3 separate regions of the Homo sapiens genome follow, and all the other regions are linked to region 3. Evidence: promoter capture Hi-C in 16 types of primary human blood cells and fetal thymus (Javierre and others, 2016). All regions are on one chromosome and are shown on one strand. Each heading gives the region's core, a stretch centred on a gene start or on the middle of the fragment in contact. The rest is flanking DNA. Distances are from core to core; before and after follow the strand shown. Region 1 overlaps DNAJC17 (DnaJ heat shock protein family (Hsp40) member C17). Region 2 holds the start of C15orf62 (chromosome 15 open reading frame 62). Region 3 holds the start of BAHD1 (bromo adjacent homology domain containing 1).

Region 1 (2,832 bases), core at 279-2,778, 350 kb after region 3:
AGTGAGCCGAGATCATGCCACTGCACTCCAGCCTGGGCCACAGAGCGAGACTCTGTCTCAAAAAAAAAAAAAAAAAATTTTTTTTTAAATGAGCCAGGCATGGTGGCATGCACCTGTAGTCCCAGCTACTTGGGTGGGGCTGGGAAGGATTATTTGAGTCCACGAGTTTGAGGCTGCATGCCACTGCATGCCAGCCTGGGCAACAGAGTGAGATCCATCTCTTTAAATAAACATAAATAAATAAAAATAAAAGAGAAGTTCCCTGTGCCTGAAAGATTGATCCTTTCATTCCTTACAGCCTGTGACCCCTATTGGGACAGCACTACAGAGAAGTCCCCAAATGCCTGGGCACTGTACAACCTATGGGCTGCTCCCAAGGCTTGGCACAAGCAGAGAGCTGGCCAACCCCAGACAGCCCCCTCAGCTCAATGCTCCCAAAACATGGGCCTGCTGGTGGTACCAAGATAATACCAGAGAACCTGGGCCTCACACTGACATCCCTCTCAGGCTGATAGCCATGGCCCATGGTTCAGTCTCAGAACAGGGGCCTGTGCCACCTAGAACAGCTGGGACCACACACGGAGCCTGGCCTGCTTCTCCCCAAATGATGGCCCTTGTACGCCCTTTGGGCTCTGGTTCCTCAGCCAATCCTGAGGCCACTCTTTAGCTCCTCCCATCCCCCCGGATCTCATCTCCAGGTCCCCCTTCCTTCACTCCCCCACAGTACTCCCTCCTATCCTGCTCTCCTCGGTCCACTTCCCCAAACCAGCCCACTTGAAACCCAGTCTACAGCCCTCTTTCTCCTCCTCAGATACCACCCTGCTCTCTGGCCCACCTCCTCCCTTTTAACCTTATCCTAACCACCGCTATATTAGGCTCAGACCCCAAAAGCCTTTCCTACCTTCTCTCAGCTTGTAGATTCTCATGCCCAGATCTGCCAGAAACGTCTCCCCACTGCCTGCTGTCACTCTTAACTCCTAGAGGCCTGGGTCTCTAGCCCCAGAACCACTTCCTCTGCCCAGTCTCTGCCCTTTCCCAGGGGGTAGAACTCCTTCCCTCTGGGCCCTGGTACTTCCTACACCTCATTCATTTCTGTCTTCCCTTAATGCATTGTTTCCTTTATAAACAAATTTGTATTAGTAAAAAGAAATTAGTTGATTTCGGAAGTCTGAGGCAGGAGAATGGCGTGAACCCGGGAGGCGCATCTTGCAGTGAGCCGAGATTGCGCCACTGCACTCCAGCCTGGGAGACAGAGACAGACTGTCTCAAAAAAAAAAAAAAAAAAAAAAAAAAAAGAAAAGAAAAGAAATGAGTTGATTTAGTGAAAATAACTAAATAACAATACTTACGAACAGCAAAAATAGGGAAAGCGCTATGCAAATGGAAAACATTTTGAATGCCACTAACTTCAAGGAAATGGAAACTGTGCTATGGTAGTTTTAACACAAATCTTAACACAGTTCCTTAAGCTGTTCAGAGCAGCTTACTACCTGCTGGGTTTACCCAAGTCCCAGGCAGGTAAAATCTCTATCTGTGTTACAGATGGGGCTGCGAGACTCTCTGGGGCCCACAGACCCGTCTCCTGTTGCTCTAATTGGTCCTGAAGTGTGGGTCACGGAAAAAGTTCTCAAAGAGGAGTAGAAAATTCAGGTGTGGGCCGGGCGCAGAGGCTCACGCCTGTAATACAAACACTTTGGGAGGCTGAGGCGGGTGGATCACTTGAGGTCAGGAGTTTGAGATCAGCCTGGCCAACATGGTGAAACCCCGTCTCTACTAAAAATATAAAAATCAGCTGGGCATGGTGGCGCATCACATGCCTGTAATCCCAGCTACTTGGGAAGCTGAGGTATGAGAATCACTTGAACCCAGGAGGCGGAGGTTGCAGTGAGCCAAGATCGTGCCACTGCACTCCAGCCTGGGCGACACAGCGAGACTCTCTTTCCAAATAAAAATAAAATAAAAATAAAATAAGGTGGCAGTACCAGCCACCTTATGCTGGGCGAATCACTTAAATTCTTGGAGTCTTTGTTTCCACATCTAGGAATTGGTGCCAGTAGTCCTTGACCACCTCACAGGCTTGCTTTCAAGGTCTCATCAAATGAGATAATTTATGTGAAAGCACTTTGGTGTCATAGAAATGTGAGGTATTATCTTGAATGTTAATGAATCGCTTACAGCTTACAAACACAAATGAATCATTCCTTTTGACTTAACAGGCACCTAAGTAACTTCAAAAATCCAGAGCTTCAGCCAGACAGCTTTGGTGAAGAGTGATACTGAGGGGACTTGGAGATACTGAGAGGACTTAGAGACCAGCTGCTAGATCCACCCAGAGCTGGTCAGGCCCTTGGTGAAGAACAACTATCTTCAAGTGAAACCAGGCTTGGAAAAAATAACTTAAAATAAATAAAAAAAAATAGGCCGGGTGCGGTGACTCATGCCTGTAATCCTAGCACTTTTGGAGGCCAAGGTGGGAGGATCCCTTGAGCCCAGGAGTTTGAGATCAGCCTGGACAATGTAGGGAGACCCTGCCTCTAAAAAACCATAATAAATAAATAAACAAATAAATAATGTGGTAATATATTGAGGCTACAAAAAAAATTTTAAAAAGCTGGGTGCGGTGGCTCATGACTGTAATCTCAGCACTTTGGGAGGCCAAGGCAGGCGATCACCTGAGGTGAGAAGTTTTGAGACCAGCCTGGCCAACATGGTGAAACCCCATCTCTACTAAAAATACAAAAATTAACTGGGTATGGTGGCGTGTGCCTGTAGACCCAGCTACTCGGGAGGCTGAGGGAGAAGAATTGCTTGAACCTGGGAGGGGGAGGTTGC
Region 2 (2,806 bases), core at 249-2,748, 330 kb after region 3:
GCTCTGCTGGGCACTGACCCTGGCACTCTCTATGCCCGGTGCCCTGTGGTCTGGCTCTTGCTGAGGATGCAGAAGGGAGCCCTACCCGAGGCAGCCCGGAATGCCCCACCCTCGAAGGGGAAAAAGGCAAGCATGAGGCCAGCGTGCCTCTAAAACTACACACCAGGGCTCCTGGAGGGCAGGGCCCATAATCAAAAGAATAATAAACAACCATCTGAATGGGCCAAGGCTGTAGGGTGGAGAAGCAGCTCTACAGCGGGACCTAAGCTGCCAACCCACGCCCTGATAAGGTCTGCGGTGGGAATTAAACCTTTTCCTCCCTCGGTGCCGCTTAGGCTGTGTGATGATCATGTGGTCCCAACAGCTTCTCAGAGAAGTGTGAAGCACACCTGAGTTGGCACAGAAGTGAGCTAGGCCAGGGATTGCAAGATGCGGTGGCCTGCCCGTAGCAGAGAGCTGTGGGGCCCTGATCCGCGGTACCCCGCATGGGGACGCTGTCACAGAGCAAGGCAGGAGGAAAATGTGGTGGTCAGTGACCCGGGGAATAGGAAGGGAGCAGCTAGGGTTGAGATGCCAGGCCCTGGCCAGCAGGTTTGGAGTAAGGGGTGTAGAGAAACAGGAAGTGTTACTCAGCCTGGGTTCCCCTGTTCCTCCCGATGGCTGCACCCCTCCCCTCTCCCCGGCTGCAGCAGTCCCAGCTAGGCCGGACTGCTAAGCCTGGCCCAGAGCACGGCTGACAATTCACGGCAGCCTCCCTGGCCCAGCCTCCTGCAAGAGAAGGAGGACCCCAGAGGAAGCCCGGTAGCCAGAGGGGAAGGGCTGGAGCACAGCCAGGTAGGAGGCAACACGGCCCGGCCTTCAGCAGCCGCTCTCCTGGCAGGAGCCCTCTAGGGTAAAACAAGGGAGGACAAGGAAATAGCAGCCAGGCTGATGGCAGGCCAAGAGGAGGCCACATCTCCCATCCCCAGGTTAATGCTGCTCTGCCAAGAAAACTTGGAGCCACCCTTGGCGGGCCCCCAGCCCAACCCTGGGCAGCAGAGCCCGCCCATCACAGGCATGGCGCTGCTCCCCATTAACACACCCTCTGCCCCCCTTCCTGTTCCTGCTCGTGAGGGCCTGACAGCGGGGCTGAGTCACCCATACCAGCTACAGGTCTCTTCCTTCCCCAACAATCGTTCCACACGCCTGCCTTTCAATTAACTCCCACCCGCCCCGAACTCTTCCTACCCAGACACTGTGGGCAGGGAGCCAGGCGCACCTGCTGGGGGCCCAGGGTGGTGGGGCTGTGATCAGAAAGGAAGCCGCGTGGTGACACATAAAGCAGGGCTGCCCCCACACGAGTCCCCAGAGGAATCTTAAGCTCCCCATTGCCCTGGGGTGTTGGTCCCAGCTGCCCCATCCCTGCACGCGGATGCTGCAATTACCCAAGAGCACGAAACCTGGCTTCCCACCTGACTGAGTCAGCTGAGAACAAAAACACATCTCCACCGCCACAAACAGCCAGGCCACTCATCAGAGTCCGGGAGCCACTGGCAGAGAGGGCACGGCCCCACACTGCCCCAGAGACATATAGGAGCCAGGCAAACACCAGGGCGAGTGAGCTCGGGCCATCTGCTGCCTGCCTGTGGAAGGAGCGCTCGCCAGCCTCACCCAGCCCGAGAAGGTCCACCTCTGCCTCCGCCGGAGCTGCCCTCATTCTGGCTCCAGTAAGTGCTGCTTCTTCCTCCTGGGTTTTTTTCCACTACCCTATTCAGTAACCAGGCCACTCCTGTCCCTGTGGGAAACTCTTGCTGCCAGGAACTCCCAGCTGTCTGCTCTCCTGGGCAAAAAAGTTCCTTCTTCCTGAGCCCTCCTCTCACCATCCAAGATGTGGTCAAAGGTCTGTGCTGAGTGGAAACCCTGAGGCCTCTGCTCCTAGGGGAGCCTCCCCAGCTGCTGGCACTCACTGCCCCAGCAGGGACCACATGCACCCTGGCTGCTCCTGAACACCTGTCTGCTGGCTCCCCTGGGCCCCATGGAGACCTGGCGGAAAGGCTCCTTCCGCAACGCCTCCTTCTTCAAGCAGCTGAGCCTGGGGCGGCCACGGCGGCTCCGGCGACAGAGTAGTGTGCTTAGCCAGGCCAGCACAGCAGGTGGGGACCACGAGGAGTACAGCAACCGAGAAGTCATCCGGGAGCTACAAGGGAGGCCAGATGGCCGGCGCCTGCCACTGTGGGGGGACGAGCAGCCCCGGGCCACCCTGCTGGCCCCACCCAAGCCCCCACGCCTCTACCGAGAGAGCTCAAGCTGCCCCAACATCCTGGAGCCCCCACCTGCCTACACAGCAGCCTACTCTGCCACCCTGCCATCGGCGCTCTCTCTGTCGAGTGCCCTCCACCAGCACTCAGAGAAGGGCCTTGTGGACACTCCCTGCTTCCAGAGGACACCTACCCCAGACCTCAGTGATCCCTTCCTCTCCTTCAAAGTGGACCTGGGGATTTCACTTCTTGAGGAAGTTCTGCAGATGCTAAGGGAGCAGTTTCCTAGCGAGCCCAGCTTCTAAATGGGGTGAGGGTGGGCAAAGCCGGGGTGACTGGAAGATCCAGAGGCTGGGGATTAAGGAAAGGACAGGGACAGGACTCCAGGCCCATCGCTGGAGGGTTCAGGCAGGCAGAGCTTCTTCATCCTGGGGGAGGATTCCAGGATAGGAATCCAGGGCTCTGCCTGCTCTCTGGGTCCTGGACAGTCCTTCCAGGCACCCCAGAGTGGAGGGACAGAGGCAATCTGGAAATGTTGGGGGGGCGGCCCTTCCTGGCAGGACCCTGAA
Region 3 (2,786 bases), core at 20-2,519:
ATTGGGAATGAGGCTTTGTTCAGGGGTGAACTCAGCATTTCTCGAGAACCTACTGTGTGCATATCCCGGGCTTAGTGAAGTCCTAGGCGGGCTCTGGCACCACCAGGTGCCCAAGACACAGCTCCTTCCCGCACCTAACAGGGACTTCCCATCTCTCTCTGTGCCCTTAGCCTGCTGTGCCCACCCACCCCACTGACCCCGCGAGCGTGCTCGGGCTTGGGAGGGCACGTCTGTGGGGGTGAGAGACGGAGCCACAGCATTTGGTGACTAGGGGGAAGCCAGGTAAGTGTCTACACTTGGTTCTCCCGTAGCTTGGGGACGCGAGGGAGGGAGTCCAGCCGCTCCTGTCAGGCTGCCCGCCCCTTTCTCCCTCCCCCGGAGAGCTCTGATGTTCCCCGCGGTGGTGGAAGAGGGTGTGTGGGTGTCAAGGACTCACAGACCAGGCTCTGCTGTCAGCTGGAAATGGATGAGGGCTCCACACTCTGCTTCTGAAGAGGGTGAATTAGGAGCTGGGGTTGGGGGCGGTAGGTGAAGGGCAGAAAGAGGAAAAAGAGATGCGGGTGAGGGGTTACCGAGCCAGGACCGACCTTGCTGGAAAGGAAAGGAGACGTGGCAGGCAGGGAAGTCGGAAAGATGAGGCAAGGGCGGGAGGGGCTTCTCAGCAGTCGGGGCCCTTTTGCAGGAGTCTGGGGCCCTTTCTGCAGGAAAGGGGGGTTGTTCTCGCTTGATTTTCGGCTGGTCTTCCTGAAGCTTTGCCCTGGGGGCAGCAGCCTCCGGCGAGGATGGGGTGTTCCTCGGCCCGCAGTTTTCTCCAGCGCGTGCTGGGGAGGATTTGGGGGAAAGGGGATGCGGAGGGGTGATGGCCAGGGCGGGGGGAGATAAGATTTTTCCGGGGGGGCTAGCAGCTGGGAGATTGGGGTCGAGTCACCGTGGGATACGGGCTCAGGTTCTGAAGACGAAGAGAAAAATCCAAGAAGCCGGCAAAGAAAATCACCCCTTGCCACCACCCTTGGCACGGCACCCCTCCCCCAAGGCCCCACCACTCCCCGCACCGCCTCCCCCGGCCGCCTCGTGCTGCCCCCTGCGTTGGGACGACCGACCCACGGTTCTGATTGGTCAGAGACCGGGAGGGGGAGCCGAGGGCCGGATTGGCTGGCGGAGCCAGCGCAGGGCGGGGCGGCTGATTGGCGGAGCTGGCCGAGGGGCGCGCTGCTGATTGGCTGGGGACGAGGAAGCAGGAAGGAGGGCGGCGGAGGCTCCGCTCTCGGGGAGTTTGTGGGGGAACCGCGAGCGGCGTAGCGGATCCCGGAGCCCGGCCCCCGCCGCCCGCCCGTCCGGCTGCCTGCCCCGCCCGTCCGGCCCCCGCCGTCCGCCCGCCCCGGCCAGGCGCGCCCGCCCCCCCCGACGGCCCCGCCCGGCCGCGGTCCCCGCTCCGCCCGCCCGGCCCCGGCCCCCAGGAGGAGGCGCTGACGCAGCAGCGTGGAGCCCGGGAATTGAGCGCCCCCGGGGGGTTCCAGCCGCCGGATTCCAGCCCGGCCGGGGCCTGCGGGCGCCCAGAGCCGCGCCGTCCGCGCCGCCCGTTCTGGTGAGTCAGGGGCCGGGGTCGAGGAGGGGGAAGGGGCGAGCTGGAGGGAGGGAGCGAGCGAGGTAGGCAGAAGAGCGAAGGGGGAGAGCACCGGCCGCCCGTCAGCGCGCCCCACCGAGCGCGCCGCGCCACCGCCCCCGCCAGCCCGGGAAGGGACGGACGGACGGACGACGCGAAGCAGGTGCGGCCGCCCGCCCGCTCGCGCCACCTCCCTCCCCTGGGTCCGGCACCACGGTCCCGCCATCGGGGAACGCGGCGCGCCTCGAGGTGACAGCCCCCGGGGGCCGCCCGCCTTGCAGGCCGGGGGCGGGGTGGGTGGCGGCCGCAGGGTGGCAGCTCGGCCGGGCGGCGGCGGCGCGGGCGTCCCGAGCTGCGGAGGGCGGGAGGACGCCGGTCTTTCCTCGCCGCGGCGGAGCCGGCTCGCCTCCGAGTGCGCGGGCGGCGAGGCCCCCGCCGCGCCCCCTCCCCCATCGCGGTCCCCGAGGCAAGGGGCCGCGGCCGGGGGCGGCGCCGCGGGATCGCCCGCTCAGGGTGGGGGGCGCCCTCCCGCGCTGGGAGCTGACCGGTTATTGCTGGATGGGGGGCAGGGGATGAGGGCCGCGCCGGGCCGGGGGCGGCAGGGGGGAGTAGTGTAGACCCGACTCGATCGGGCTGAGAGGAAGGGAGGCGCCGAAGACGGAAGGGGACCGGTTCGAAAAGCGAGTGTGGGCCGCGGGAGGCCCTGCGGGGACCTTGCGGGGCGGCGGCCGAGTCCGAGGTGTGGCGGGGGGAATCGAAGTTGTCAGACCGCCTCCAAGTGACAGCGGGACCCTGTGCTCGCGGCCCGGCCTGGTCTTGCCCTGCTCGCTCCGCCGCCTCTCTTCTGGGGCTGGGGGCCGGGTCAGGTCGGGCCCGAGGGGCTCGCTTGGCGGTGAAGCGCCGGACAAAGGCGGCGCCGGAGCGGGCGCAGGTGGTGGCGTCGGGGAGGGGAGCGGGTCCGAGGCACCCACTCCGAGGGGCGGGCGACGGGGCCGGACTCTGCCCCGGGGACTGCGGGGGCCGGGGCGCCCGCCGGGAGGAGCTGCGGCACTGGCTTGCCGCTCTAGCCGCTCGCTGTTGGCCTCGAGGCTCTGGGAAGTGGGGTCTACTTGCCGGGGGCCGAGGGGCCGGGGTGGGGGTGTATGCTCATGATGTGCCTTGGCTGGTGGCGACGGGGTTGCTA

What was found. The method cuts DNA at HindIII sites, captures the fragments that hold promoters and counts their contacts. A CHiCAGO score of 5 or more calls a contact.
Region 1: a fragment that was not itself captured here is called in contact with the fragment with the promoter of BAHD1 in region 3 in 1 of 17 cell types (naive B cells); the score reaches 5.8 in naive B cells.
Region 2: the fragment with the promoter of C15orf62 here is called in contact with the fragment with the promoter of BAHD1 in region 3 in 1 of 17 cell types (naive B cells); the score reaches 6.3 in naive B cells.

Annotation. Positions count from the first base shown.
Region 1 is chr15:40,788,637-40,791,468 of GRCh38, forward strand. All of the region lies in intron 1 of DNAJC17 (DnaJ heat shock protein family (Hsp40) member C17), which reads right to left. Among named protein-coding and RNA genes, the nearest start is that of ZFYVE19, 17 kb to the right of the region's middle. The HindIII fragment of the contact is 4,448 bases long and covers 1-2,832 here.
Region 2 is chr15:40,768,482-40,771,287 of GRCh38, forward strand. C15orf62 (chromosome 15 open reading frame 62) reads left to right here and starts at 1,499. Exons shown (of 1, transcript NM_001130448.3): 1 at 1,499-2,806. The coding sequence starts at 2,015. The coding sequence ends at 2,542. All of the region lies in intron 10 of DNAJC17 (DnaJ heat shock protein family (Hsp40) member C17), which reads right to left. RefSeq lists enhancers at 160-778, 1,397-2,015, 1,969-2,058, 2,016-2,632. The HindIII fragment of the contact is 5,370 bases long and covers 1-2,806 here.
Region 3 is chr15:40,439,684-40,442,469 of GRCh38, forward strand. BAHD1 (bromo adjacent homology domain containing 1) reads left to right here and starts at 1,270. Exons shown (of 7, transcript NM_014952.5): 1 at 1,270-1,585. RefSeq lists enhancers at 1-513, 1,319-1,820, 1,821-2,320 and silencers at 976-1,645, 1,072-1,257, 1,706-1,765, 2,486-2,605, 2,626-2,695. The HindIII fragment of the contact is 2,346 bases long and covers 749-2,786 here.